Linked DNA regions of Homo sapiens: regions 2, 3, 4 and 5 are each linked to region 1. Evidence: promoter capture Hi-C in 16 types of primary human blood cells and fetal thymus (Javierre and others, 2016). All regions are on one chromosome and are shown on one strand. Each heading gives the region's core, a stretch centred on a gene start or on the middle of the fragment in contact. The rest is flanking DNA. Distances are from core to core; before and after follow the strand shown. Region 1 holds the start of PLEKHO1 (pleckstrin homology domain containing O1). Region 2 overlaps SV2A (synaptic vesicle glycoprotein 2A). Region 3 overlaps OTUD7B (OTU deubiquitinase 7B). Region 4 overlaps OTUD7B (OTU deubiquitinase 7B). Region 5 overlaps OTUD7B (OTU deubiquitinase 7B).

Region 1 (2,689 bases), core at 90-2,589:
TATCTTGAGACATCTCTGGAAAAATGATTTTTCCTTTTCCCTGCTCCTCAGTGCCAGGGATTTTTATTCATTTTGTGGTTACTGCATGCTTGCCATATGCCAGGCAATGTGTTTATTAGCTTATTATGATTTCAAAATTAGCCCTGGAAGACAACACATATCTTCAAAGGACTCTCAGAGGTCATCTCATATCTTCCCCTAGCTTTCCTTGTTGATAAAAATGGCAGTTCATCCCTCACCACTTAATACGTGGAGGGACGCGGGCCTAAAGAAATTCAGTGACTTGACCAAAGCCCAGAGTGGTGATGAAACCAGTACCCAAGCGCGGGGTTTCTCACTCCCCTTTTCCATCACACGTATATATATTAAAAAGACATGAAGTTACTAAGATGTGTCCTGGAGGCTCTGAGGCAGATCTGCTGTAGGAGGGATCAGCAGAGGCTTCTCTAGTCAGGGCATTCTCTGGGCGTTCAGCCCTTCCCTCCACTGGGCTCCAGCGCTGTAGAGAGGGTGGGGTTTTTACCTATCAGTATAGCGGGAAAAGATACCCAGGTGGCAGGAAGTTTAAGCCTCACCTGGAACTTATATTGAAAGCCACTTGGTAGAAAGGATAATGGTTTGGAGACAGAGTTCTATTCCTGCCAGCATTGACACTGTGTCTGAAAAGCCAGCATCGACACTGTGTCTGCAAATCCCTCAGCTATTCTGAGTCTCCGTTTTCTCCCTGTGAGATGGAGATCATAAAATCCGCCTCATCCTTAGGATTATTCTCCTGAAGCTACAATAAGGCCTGAGGCATTGTACGCTGGAAGAAACGTGTATTAATAGCAACTTCTGTCCCACCCCATCCCCCAACACGTCGATCCCCTCCGGAGCATAAAACTTTCCCCCAGCATCTGACCTGCCCAGGCCACCCTAGCACCTAGGAGCGTGAATTCCTGATGCGGGTTGTGGGTGGCGCGCCCTCCCGGTTCCCGCTCTCGTTTTTGTTTTTGGTCGGGTAAGGCGATGCTGTAGAGGCTGGCGATCTCCAGTCTTCACGAATCCGCACGTCTCTCCATTATCCACCGCGCCCGCCCACTGGGCCCCGGGGCGGCCGGCGGCCGGGTCTCTCGGGCTCCGCGTGTCGCCCGAGCCGCCGCCGGAGCGAGGGTCCCTGCCCCCTGGGGAGCGGTCTCCAGCCGCTTCGAAGCCGCCTTCTTCCCCCTCCGTGAGTCAGAAACAAAGGCGGGGGGGCGGGGGGAGCGCCCGAGCTGCGGCTCCGCGATTCGCCCTTTATTCTGAACTCGCAACGTCAGCGGCCCGCGGATGGAGCTGCGGGGTGCGGACTGGGCCGCCCACAGCGCACCGGGCCGGGGGAGCGGCCGCGCTGGGCCGGGCGGGCGGGTGGCGGGGGTGCGCTCGGGGACCCGGGCCGCGTGGGCGCCGGGATGGAGGGCGCCAAGGGGCGGGGAGCGGGCGTGCGTGTGTGTGCGAGTGCGAATGCGAGGGAGGCCGGCCTTGAGTGAAACCGGAGCTACAAAGAAGGGGAGAGTCCGGGAGCGGGAGGGCGCGAGGGAGGAGCGGCGGCGCCGGGGCAGCTCCGACGCCCTCCCGCGGGGAAGGAGCCCCCGCGGTGCCGCCGAGGCCCCGACGCGGGGCCGCCCCTCGGCTCGCCGCCCCGCGCCCGCGCCCGCTGGGAATGATGAAGAAGAACAATTCCGCCAAGCGGGTGAGTGCGCTTGCCCGCCCTGCGGCCGCCGCCGCCTCCGCGCTCTGACGACCCCCGCTCCGTCGGCGCCGCGGCGGCCTGGGAGACCCACGGCCCGGCCGCGCCCCCGCCCCGGCGGCCCGGTCCCCTCGGCCTCGGCCCCGCCAGGCGCCCGCGGGGGCTTTTGTTTGTTTACTCGCCTCGGGGGGCTTCAACTTGGCTGAGTTTCCCCACGACCCGCACCTCCCCCGCCCCCGGGCGCCGGGCGAGCGTTTGCCTCGCGCTCCGCCGTGGCGAGGAGACAATGGGAGAGAAAACCAGAGAAACGCCGTTAGTCCCCGCGCGGCGAGGACGGGGCGGCGGGGGCGCAGGGCCTGGAGGGAACCTGGGAGCCTCTCCGCGCCCGGCCGGCGCCCCTGCCACTTGCAGCCCCGGTTGTTTATTCGGGAGCGGGGGAGGGGAGCGGGGGGAGTTCCTCGGAGTGAAAACCTTTCCGAAGTGGGAGCGAACCTGGGGCGGCCCCCCGCCCCCCGGCCGCAGCCTTCGGAGGAGACTGGGCCGCCGAGGCGGTCGTGAGAGACGGACGGAGAGGAAGCGCCGGCTGGAATCTCCTAACCGCCCGCTTCTCATCTTGTCCTGGGGCAGGGACCTCAGGATGGAAACCAGCAGCCTGCACCGCCCGAGAAGGTCGGCTGGGTCCGGAAATTCTGCGGGAAAGGGATTTTCAGGGAGATTTGGAAAAACCGCTATGTGGTGCTGAAAGGGGACCAGCTCTACATCTCTGAGAAGGAGGTGGGTGCCTCTTGCCTCTAACTCTCCGTTTTCTCATAGCCCCCACTTTGTCACTCCCCAAGGGCTCGCCTAGCTTACTCCACCCCCGTTTTGTTCCAAAGGCAAGTTCAGTGGTCTCCTCTCTACCCCCATCTCATCTGCAGAGAAAGGCCACCCTTTAATGAGAAGACCAGAGTGAGAATTAGAAGTTGAGTTGGCCGCTTACTC
Region 2 (2,689 bases), core at 142-2,641, 250 kb before region 1:
TAGAGAGGCCAATTTAGGAAGTAAATCTGGTACACCATGTTATTCTGACCTTCAGTCCATCTCACCATTTTACCCTCCAAGGCTGTTAGGAGAATTGGATGTAGGTGGAGAGTCACAGAAGCAGGTATAGCCATTTTGTATTTTGAGGATTTGTTTCCGTTTTATTTTTCGTCAATATTTTTCACTGCATTTTTCACATCAACAGAGTTGGGTTTAGGGTTCCCCAGGAGAGCAAGGGAGATGGATGGGTCCCTCCCAGGGGTGCGAGGAAGAGGGCTACGTCCAGCATGTGGGGAGTGAGGGACAAGGGCACAGGGCACACACTCATACACTGGGCACTGGAGAAGGCAGTCTTTTGAGCACAGACACCAAAGAGTTAAACAGTCACCACCTGGTACAGTGTTACAAAATGGGGAGAGTGACCACAGGGTTGGGGCACTGGACGCAGCATGACGAAGGTGAATTTTGATTTTCTTTTTTGTTATTTTCACTTTTTTCCTTTTAACATTTTTTTAAACATTTTACAAACATCTAAAAACTACAACACGTCACAGCTACAGTGGGGTGAGGGGAGGGCACCAAAGAAAGCAGCCACACAGAGTAGGGTGGGATGGGGCAGCCTAACCTACAGAGGCTATTGTGTGGAAGGGTAAAATGGGGAAACTGAGGCTTCTAGTCCCTGCATTAGGGGTCCCTCACTCACTGCCCAACCTCTCCCCACTCAGAGGAGCTGCCAGGAGGGCCCCTGCTTCCTGCCTCTGCCCCAGCTCTTTGTGCTTTTTGATCTGCTGGTTTGACCAGATGCCTGGTTTCTTTCCCTCCCCTGCTCCCCTCCCTGTGAGGGGACAGGTAGGGAGCATGGGAGGGCAGCTGTGCTATTCCCGCCTGTGCTGTAGTGGGTGGAGCCTCTCACTCCAGAGGAGGCCTCTGCTTCTTGAGGAGGGAAGGAGATGGGCCTTGTCGGATGCCCTCAGATCTCCCTAGACTGTGGGACTCTTATCCCAGGCTGGCCTAGGGCTCCTCCATCCCAGGCTCAACACAGAAACCAGATTAGGGGAGGAACTGTGGGAGGCAGGGTTGTGTGTGCATCCGCTGAAATTACCCTTGGCTTATATTTGAGGACAGTATAGTGATACCCCCCGCCCCATGGCACATGCACACACATATGTAAGTATACATACACATTCACACACAGTCCTGCGGAGCTGCCTCAGAACTTAATCTATTAATAAATAAGAATCAGAAAGCTAATTTCATAAAATTCAGGCTTCATATTTGCAGCCCAAATTGAGAGGAAAGTGGAGGCCAGAGGGCTGAGGTTTATTGCTTCTCCCCCAGCATCCAACAGGAGATGTGAGAGGGCACCCGAGGCCCACTCTTCAGACTCTAAGAAGTTCTTTTGGTCCATGGTCTACACCAGAGCCCCAGCCCCTAGCATAATTGCATACCTGTGGTTTCACCAGGGCCTAGGCAGAGGGAATGATGGGGAAGGCAGGAAGCCTATTCTGGAACCCCTGGAACAGGGAAGCAAGGGCCCCTCTCTAACAGGGGGAGAAGGATGGGGCTCAGCCTTCTCTTGTGCAAAGTCAAGGGCAGTGGGAAATGGGGAGTACAGCTTCATCTCAAAACTGGGATGAAGGAGCCTTCCCTGTAGTCCCTGCCCACGGGGTTTACACACATGCACACGCACACGCACACACAGCTAAGACACCAAACACGGGGAGTGGGGAGTGAGGGCTCTGGAGGTCAGGATGGCAGGGCAGGGAGGGGAAGGAAGGAGTTGTTGGTCTCACAGTGTGCCTGCCAATCCCAAAGCCCTAGAGACCCCTTCACTGCAGCACCTGCCCCCGGGTCTCAGGCAGCTTCAGGGCCAGAGAGCTGCCAAGGGCAAGGGCAGCTGAGGCAAAGAGGATGGGTGCAGCCTTGGTGATTCCCACGAAGGATGTGAAGATGCTGATCCCCAGCACAGCTGCCAGCTTACACAGGGCATTCAGGAAGCCAAAAGCTGTGGTCCTGCTCAGGAGTCCCCCAGTGCAGCACGGCGCAAGGTACAGGAGGGAGGCAAAGGAAGAGTGGAGGGCAGGGAAGTGAAGTCCAGGAAGATGCAGGCAGTGTCCAAGAGGGAGAGAGAAGGTTGGAGAGATCAGAGAGGTAAAGGATGTACACCAGGAATGTAAATAAATTGAGAGACAAAGGGAAAGGAGACCAAAAATTGAGGTTAACAGTTAAGACTTTGAGGAGTAGATACAAAAGCTACCAGATTTTTTTTTCCTTTTTTTTTTTTTTTGAGACGGAGTCTTGCTCTGTTGCCCAGGCTGGAGTGCAGTGGTGCGATCTCGGCTCACTGAAAGCTCCACCTCCCGGGTTCAAGCAATTCTCCTGCCTTAGCCTCCTGAGTAGCTGCGATTACAGGCACCCAGCTAACTTTTTGTATTTTTAGTACAGACAGGGTTTCACCATGTTGGCCAGGCTGGTCTCAAACTCCTGACCTCAGGTGATCTGCCTGCCTCGGCCTCCCAAAGCACTGGGATTACAGGCATGAGTCACCGTGCCCGGCCAAAGCTACCAGATTTTAGAGGAGAAAATGGAAATGTATATCCTCTCACCCCTAAGGATGCTCTTCCCATTCAGCCCTCCTTCCTCACCCCACCCCTCCCCTGAATCCACTGCCCTGCCTCCAACACATTCC
Region 3 (2,689 bases), core at 126-2,625, 190 kb before region 1:
TGATGGTGACATACAGATGGGGTATTGGTGTGGATGTCCTTTCTGTTAGTTTTCCTTCTAACAGTCAGGACCCTCAGCTGCAGGTCTGTTGGAGTTTGCTGGAGGTCCACTCCAGACCCTGTTTGCCTGGGTATCACCAGTGGAGGCTGCAGAACAGCAAATATTGCAGAACGGCAAATGTTGCTGCCTGATCCTTTCTCTGGAAGCTTCATCTCAGAGGGGCACCCGGCTGTATAAGATGTCAGTCAGCCCCTACTGGGAGGTGTCTCCCAATTAGGCTACTCGGGGGTCAGGGACCCACTTGAGGAGGCAGTCTGTCCGTTCTCAGATCTCAAACCGCGTGCTGGGAGAACCACTACTCTCTTCAAAGCTGTCAGACAGGGACGTTTAAGTCTGCAGAAGTTCCTGCTACCTTTTGTTCAGCTATGCCCTGCCGCCAGAGGTGGAGTCTACAGAGGCAGGCAGGCCTCCTTGAGCTGCAGTGGGCTCCACCCAGTTCGAGCTTCCCGGCCGCTTTGTTTACCTACTCAAGCCTCAGCAATGGCGGACGCCCCTCTCCCAGCCTCACTGCCTCCTTGCAGTTCTATCTCAGACTGCTGTGCTAGCAGTGAGCAAGCCTCCGCAGGCATGGGACCCTCCGAGCCAGGCACGGGATATAATCTCCTGGTGTGCCATTTGCTAAGACCGTTGGAAAAGGGCAGTATTAGGGTGGGAATGTCCCGATTTTCCAGGTACCGTCTGTCACGGCTTCCCTTGGCTAGGAAAGGGAATTCTCCAACTCCTTGTGCTTCCCAGGTGAGGCAATGCCCCGCCCTGCTTCGGCTCACGCTCCGTGGGCTATACCCACTGTCCAACAAGCCCTACTGAGATGAACCCGGTACCTCAGTTGGAAATGCAGAAATCATCCCTCTTCTGCGTCACTCATGCTGGGAGCTGTAGACTGGAGCTGTTCCTATTTGGCCATCTTCAACACTTGGTCAATCTTGTTTTACTACACCTCAGATCTATTTACCTACCTCCCCCATCACGGGGCTACCACCAGAGAATTTTGAAGCAAATCCTGGACATTATATAATTTCATCCATTTTTATTTTATTTCAGTTTCTATCTCTAAAAACATAAAGGACTACCTTTTTTTTTTTTTTTTTTTTTTTGAAATGGAGTCTCACTCTGTCGCCAGGGCTGGAGTGCAGTGGCACGAACTCGGCTGACTACAACCTCTGCTTCCTGGGTTCAAGCAATTCTCCTGCCTCAGCCTCTCGAGTAGCTGGGATTACAGCCGCCTAGCACCACGCCCAGCTAATTTTTTGTATTTTCAGTAGAGACAGGGTTTCACCACATTGGCCAGGCTGGTCTCGAATTCCCGCCCACCTCGGCCTCCCAAAGTTCTGGGATTACAGGCGTGAGCCACTGCGCCTGGCCAGGACTACCTTTTTAAACAACCACTATACCATTAATATCACATTTTATAATTTTAACAATAATCAAACACAGAGACATTGTTCACATTTCCTTAATTGTCTTATGATGTCCACACATCCCAACTGGTTGATGTCTTTTTTTTCTTTTAGAGACAGAGGTCTCTCTTTGTCACCCAGGCTGGAGTGCAGGGGTGCTGTCACAACTCACTGCAGCCTCGACCTCCCCAGCTCAGGCAATCCTCCCACCTCAGCCTCCCAAGTAGCTGGGACTATAGGCATGCACCACCATGCCTGGCTAATTTTTTTTTTTTAAGATGTGGTCTCACTGGCCAGGCATGGTGGCTCATGCTTGTAATCCCAGCACTTTGGGAGGCCAAGGTGGGTGGATCACTTGAGGCCAGGAGTTTGAGATCACCCTGGCCAAAATGGTGAAACCCCGTCTCTAATAAAAATACAAAAATTAGCTGGGCGTGGTGGCATGCATCTGTAGTCCCAGCTACTTGGGAGGCTGAAACAGAGAATCACTTGAACCCTGAAGGCAGAGGTTGCAGTGAGCAGAGATCACACCACTGCACTCCAGCCTGGGCAACAAAGTAAGACTCTGTCTCAAAAAAAAAAGAAAAAAAAGAAAGAAAAAGAAAGGGGGTCTCACTATGTTACCCAGGCTGGTTTCGAACTCCTGGGCTCACACGATCCTCCTGCCTCAGCCTTTCAAAGTGCTGAGATTACAGGTGTGAGACACCACACCCGGCCTGATATGTCTTTTTAGTCCATTTAAACCTACAAGTTCCTGGTCCCTTTTTATTTTCCTTGCAGTTTACTTACTGAAGATACTGGGTCATTTGTCCTGAAGTTTCCAAAGTCTAGATGGGCTACTTTATATTCCAGTTCAATACCGAACTACCTGTAGTTCCTAAACATATCATGTTGTTACACACTTTTGTGCCCTTAGCATAGTTCCCCTCTTTCCTTCTAATATCCTCTTAGCACAGAGCTCTCTAGACACTGGGCTGTGGAAGCCCAGTGAGGACTCTATGCAGGTTTCCTCCTCCCCTACTTAGCCATACTTACCCACCACAGTTGGCTCCATTGGTACCTAGATGCATTCGGGGTTCACTTGAGGCAAGCTTGATCAGTTCATTCCACTCCTTCTGCCATTCATCTTCTGTGTATACCAGCCCTGACTGTGTGAAGGACAGGCAGGGGACATTGGGCAATTAGAGGCTGGGTTCTAAGAGGCAATACCTATTCCACCTTATTCACTGTTA
Region 4 (2,689 bases), core at 94-2,593, 170 kb before region 1:
TTCACTCCAGCCTGGTCAAAAGAGCGACTGTCTCAAAAAACTAACTTAAATTAAATTAAAGAATAAGTTATTCCACAAAGCAGAGTGGGGACCCAAAAGGTTCATAACAAGATTCAATCTCTGTCCATTAACCTCTTGAACCCAGGAAACACATCTACTCCAAACACGTCTTTCTCCACACAGGACAGATGACTGTCAAATAAGTTCAACTGAAAAAGATCTCTTCTTTCAGACTTTGGCAGAAACTATGTCCCTAACCTGACAGCCTGGCACCAATCCAACATTCCTCTGAGGTTAAAAGTCAGAGGGAAGCAATAACAGAGTAAAGAACAATCTCTGATCAAATTCTGCCAAGTTTACAGCTTTCTATAGAAGACTCATTCATTAAGTTGCCAGGTACACTTGCCCTACCATACCCACCAATCCCCTGCCTTTTGGGAAAGGTCAAAGCATAATTGTTGAAGGCAAAAAGTGGCAAGGCAAATAAACAAAAAAGATTTGTGGGTTATAAAACCAGCAGGTCACTAACTTGCTAACACTGGATTTTTTTTTTTTTGAGACAGAGAAAGATGGCAAAATAGAAATTTTTCTCTCTTGTCCTGTTCTAATAGTACAAGAGATCCATGAGCGCAGGGACACGATTTCTTCATTTTTGTAACTCCAACATCTAGTGTAGCATCTATAATATGGTAGGTAGTCAAATGCCTGATGAATAAATGATTCAATGACTAAGCCAATTTCCACATCAGCTACCAACAAACCAACCAATTTGAAGCTTAGCAGATCAGAAATTCTACGGCACTTCTTATCACCATTCTATTTCTAAGTTTTAAAAACTCTCCTTTCCAAAGGGACATCAACCATGCTGTCACAACTCTTACCTCCCTCACACTACATGAGTTTACCTACATACACCTATATGTATTAACTAGGTGACTTTGGTCAAATTACTTACAGGGTTTCAGTTGTCTCTTCTATAATCTAGACTTGTATTAGATGACTCATAAGATACTTTCAAGGTTTAAAAAATAAACTTCTTCAGTTCACTATAGCCTCATGATCTATGATCTTTGACTATCATTCTAGATATTGTCAATTTTAAATTTACCTGAGTTTCAACATCATAATTATCAGAAAGAATTACTAATACATAAAGAACTTTTGGTCTAAGATACCTCAAATTCAAAATGTCAAATTCAAAATGTCAAATTCAAATGTCAAATTCAAATTCAAAATGTCAAGTCCCTTACCTTCAGGAATTAGGAATTAAATTCCTTCAGAATTAATAGATGAATGAATCCTCCCCCTACCCCCCAGTACAGGCAAGAATTTCTTCTCCAAACCCATTTTAGCCACAGCCTTAGGTCAGAGGAAGTGGTAGCAGCTCAAATAACTTATACACATGAATAATCCAAAACCAAGTGTATAGCTGCAAAATAAATTTCAATCTTCTCTCTTTAAAAAAAAGCAACGCAACTGTAAAGCCATTTTAATAACTTTCTGAAAGAATGTGAGAAATATACAATAAGTACACAAAATAGTAATCACAAACAGGTGCTCAGCAAAAAGGAAAAGAGTTGACTAAGCCATAGGCATACAGGCAATTTCACAGCCAGACAGTCTTCTGGGTGAGAGAAGTGAATGAAAACTAGTGTTATGGCATCATAGATCTCACATGTCAACACAGCACACAGGCTATTCTTCTCAAAAAACATTTTAACAAAGTAATTTAGAGGTTCAACATTATCTAGAATGCCTTGCTCTTTAGCAAAAATTTGAAGCACTAAGCCAAACTTCCTAACAGCACATTCTTACATTTGATGTCTCCAGGTGCATGCTGTGGACCCTGACCTAACCCCACCCAACAGGTGAGAACAACAGCTTTTGTTACATCACCACTAATACCTTGCTTAAGCTTTTCAAATTCCAAATGGAGATATCAAACCAATGATTAAAACACAGTGTTTGGGCCGGGCACAGTGGCTCACGCCTGTAATTCCAGCACTTTGGGAGGCCGAGGAGGGTGGATCACCTGAGGTCAGGAGTTTGAAACCAGCCAGGCCAACATGGTGAAACCCTGTCTCTACTAAAAATACAAAAATTTGCTGGGTGTGGTGGCTAGTCCCAGCTACTAGGGAGGCTGAGGCAGAAGGATCACTTGAACCAGGAAGGTGGAGGTTGCAGTGAGCTGAGATGGCACCACTGCACTCCAGCCTGGGCGACAGAGCAAGACTCTGTCTCGAAAAAAACAAAAAGTTTGGGCTGGGCACAGTGGCTCATGCCTGTAATCCCAGCACTTTGAGAGGCTGAGGCAGGAGGATCACTTGAGCCCAGGAGTTTGAGACCAGCCTGGACAACACAGTGGGACCCTGTCTCTAAAAACCTTTTTTAAACTAATTAAGCATGGTCGTGTGTGCCTGTAGTCCCAGCCACGTGAGTGGCTGAGGTGGGAGGATTGCTTGAGCCTGGGAGGTCAAGGCTATATAGTGTGCGACAACTGTGCCCCTACTCTTCAGGCTGGGCAACAGAGTGAGACCCTGTTTCAAAAAAAAAAAAAAAAAAAAAAAAAAGCAAACCAAACACACAGTTTTTGGCTCTGTCTCAGGGAGGAGGAGGAGGAGGAAGAGGAGGAGGAAGAGGAGGAGGAGGGGGAGGGGGAGAAGAAGAAAAGCAGTGGCTTTCAACCTTT
Region 5 (2,689 bases), core at 96-2,595, 150 kb before region 1:
ACTACTTACTAGGCATGCAAACATAAACCAGTTACTTAAACCCTGAATTCAGTATCCACTGAGAATGCTGAGCCAGACTCAGTACCTTTCAAAGCTGTCTACCAAGGTACCCCACTTCGGAGAGGCATCAGAAACCCACCAAACCCAGCTCTCCTTATTGCTATTACCCAGACTGAAAATGTGTGATCATTCTTACCTAACCTTTTTCACGATAATCAGTTACCAAATTCCCCTTATCTCTCTTCAAATTACTCAAATCTCTCCCCCTTTCTGCATTACCATTACCCTTGTAGACAGTCTTTTTCCTGGACTATTATAACAGTCCTCTAACTGGTATCCTTTCCTCTATTTTATACCACAAGGCTGAATCAGTTTTCCTAAAATACTAATTCATACAATACAATTCCCTACTCAGAGATTTTTCAGTATAAGTATAAAAACCAAATTCCTTTGGCTGAGATTTAAGTCTCACTCCAATTTATCTAACTCTCTAACTTTACTAACTTTACTGATCTTATTGCCCTCCTAGGTAAAACACTGTGCTACAAACTACTTTTCCTGCCCCCAAAACAAGGTGAGCTCAGCTCACTGGTTCTCCACCTTGAATGTTTCCCCGCTATATTTCTCTCTTCTCTAAGGTCTAGATTACCATAAAGGTAAAACTTTTCCCTATCTATTCCCTTTAAACTTCTATATAGCTATGTAACTGTACTCCTCACTTGGTACTTAGTACCTTGGACTTGTATTACTATTTATCTATTTATGCAAATATTCAGTGTTCACAAATAATTAGTGAGTTCTTAATGACTTTGACTGTTTCTATAATATACTGGAAGCCTAACTTTTCAGAGAACAGATATCCAATAAACTGTTGACAGTAACTACTACCTTAGACAAGTCATTTAAATTTTCTGGGTCTCATTTTCCTCACCTAGAAAATGACAATATGTAAATCTCTTTTCAGTTCTAAAATGCTATATGATATTAGATATACTGCTACATAGCCTGTATTTGTTTCTCACATTTTTTTTCTTTATATGCATTTATCTGTATGTAACCATGTCCTATGTAACCCAGAATATAAATTCCCAAGGGGCCAGTTCTCCTCCTGCTTATTTATTTACTGGGTAACTCCTCCTTGGCATCTCCTTAGTGCATTGTCCCCAGATTCCAGTGCACAGCCAAGTGTTCGGTGGAAAGGAATTTGTAGTTTCAATCAAGCAGCAAACATCAAGGGAAATTTGCACAGATGATTTAAATCTCAATTTTCATAATGAACTAGTATATTATACAAAATTACAAAGATGTGAGAAAGAAGGAACTTAAAGTTGTTAAAATGACAGGACACCTTGTGCCAAATAGCCAGGAATTTATTTTAGGCAAGCAAAGAAGCTAGGACACAGAAACTCTTAAGTCTAACTCTCAAATTCTATTTTCAGAGTTCTAAGAAGGGGTATGGAAAGTCTCTATTCATGTCAGTAAACAACAGGGACCAAGTATTGTTCATGTCAGAGAATCCTGTCCCTTAGAACTGATAGAAATTTTCAGGAAATTGATGGTTTCATACTTAGCCAGGTGAGCTACCAGTTCAAGGGAGGCAAAAGCAGATGCTCACAATGGAACACATAAGAGGAGATAAGTTTCTAAAATATATTTTTGTTGGAGCTAGGCATGGTGGCACACACCTATAGTCCCAGCTACTCACAAGGCTGAGGTAGGAGGATGGCTTGAGCCCAGGAGTTCAAGACCAGCCTGGGCAACATAGTGAGACCCTGTCCCTAATAAATAAATAAACAAACTACATTTTTGTTAGTTAGCATCATTGTATTTTCCCACTGTCGTGTCTTAATTCTTCACATGCGACTACCTTCATGTAAATATCAATATTAATTAACACTAAAGCCTCAGAGGAATTCGCTCTTCCTTTTCTTTTGATGTTAGCTGTTAATGATTCAAAAGGCACTAGTAGACTAACTCATTTAAAATGACCCTGACTTTTCAAAGAACTATTTTAGAACACAGCACTGGCACTTTCAAAGCTGCATTCTATCTATAATATTCTCTAAGTAGGTATCTGTAGAGTGTAGCCTGGATACAACTTTGATTAGTTAATATAAAAGGCTTATAAAGAATTCTAAGCCAGTTGTGGGAAAGATTATATCCTGCTGGAGAAAAAAGAAAATCAGGAACGTTTTTGTGGAAGAGATAGTTTACACTGGGACTTTAAGAATGGGTAAGTTTAAAAACAAAACAAAACAAAACAGGGCAAGTGGGAGCTGGGCATGGTGGCTCACGCCTGTAATCCAACACTTTGGGAGACTGAGGCAGGCAGATCACTTGGGGTCAGGAGTTCGAGACCAGCCTGGCTAACATTAGGAAACCCTGTCTCTACTAAAAAATACAAAAATTAGCCGGGTGTGGTAGCGCGCACCTGTAGTCCCAGCTACTTGGGAGGCTGAGGCAGGACAATCACTTGAACGCTGGAGGTAGATATTGCAGTGAGCAAAGATGGCACCACTGCACTCCAGCCTGGGTGACGGAGCAAGACCCTGTCTTAAAAAAAGAAAACAAAAAACAAACAAACAAAAAAACAGGACAAGTGGGGAGGGCAATGGAGAAAACAGGTTTAAAATTTAGGTGACTGAATGAACTAGATCTACCTGTAGACACATCTGAAAAGCAATGTTGA

Evidence for each region. The method cuts DNA at HindIII sites, captures the fragments that hold promoters and counts their contacts. A CHiCAGO score of 5 or more calls a contact.
Region 2: a contact is called between a fragment that was not itself captured here and the fragment with the promoter of PLEKHO1 in region 1, in 7 of 17 cell types (erythroblasts, naive B cells, activated CD4 T cells and 4 more). The highest score is 8.2, in erythroblasts.
Region 3: a contact is called between a fragment that was not itself captured here and the fragment with the promoter of PLEKHO1 in region 1, in 7 of 17 cell types (total CD4 T cells, naive CD8 T cells, erythroblasts and 4 more). The highest score is 7.3, in total CD4 T cells.
Region 4: a contact is called between a fragment that was not itself captured here and the fragment with the promoter of PLEKHO1 in region 1, in 14 of 17 cell types (erythroblasts, naive CD8 T cells, activated CD4 T cells and 11 more). The highest score is 15.1, in erythroblasts.
Region 5: a fragment that was not itself captured here is called in contact with the fragment with the promoter of PLEKHO1 in region 1 in 11 of 17 cell types (erythroblasts, megakaryocytes, naive B cells and 8 more); the score reaches 10.6 in erythroblasts.

The regions. Positions count from the first base shown.
Region 1 is chr1:150,148,577-150,151,265 of GRCh38, forward strand. PLEKHO1 (pleckstrin homology domain containing O1) reads left to right here and starts at 1,340. Exons shown (of 6, transcript NM_016274.6): 1 at 1,340-1,711; 2 at 2,336-2,482. The coding sequence starts at 1,682. RefSeq lists silencers at 968-1,427, 1,568-1,647 and an enhancer at 1,280-1,780. The HindIII fragment of the contact is 16,730 bases long and covers 1-2,689 here.
Region 2 is chr1:149,903,185-149,905,873 of GRCh38, forward strand. SV2A (synaptic vesicle glycoprotein 2A) reads right to left here. Exons shown (of 13, transcript NM_014849.5): 13 at 134-2,013. The coding sequence ends at 1,830. Among named protein-coding and RNA genes, the nearest start is that of BOLA1, 5.0 kb to the left of the region's middle. The HindIII fragment of the contact is 3,812 bases long and covers 1-2,689 here.
Region 3 is chr1:149,957,192-149,959,880 of GRCh38, forward strand. OTUD7B (OTU deubiquitinase 7B) reads right to left here. Exons shown (of 12, transcript NM_020205.4): 7 at 2,493-2,605. Among named protein-coding and RNA genes, the nearest start is that of MTMR11, 22 kb to the left of the region's middle. The HindIII fragment of the contact is 2,342 bases long and covers 205-2,546 here.
Region 4 is chr1:149,978,471-149,981,159 of GRCh38, forward strand. All of the region lies in intron 1 of OTUD7B (OTU deubiquitinase 7B), which reads right to left. Among named protein-coding and RNA genes, the nearest start is that of OTUD7B, 31 kb to the right of the region's middle. The HindIII fragment of the contact is 1,140 bases long and covers 774-1,913 here.
Region 5 is chr1:149,997,919-150,000,607 of GRCh38, forward strand. The region is part of intron 1 of OTUD7B (OTU deubiquitinase 7B); the gene reads right to left. Among named protein-coding and RNA genes, the nearest start is that of OTUD7B, 11 kb to the right of the region's middle. The HindIII fragment of the contact is 4,644 bases long and covers 1-2,689 here.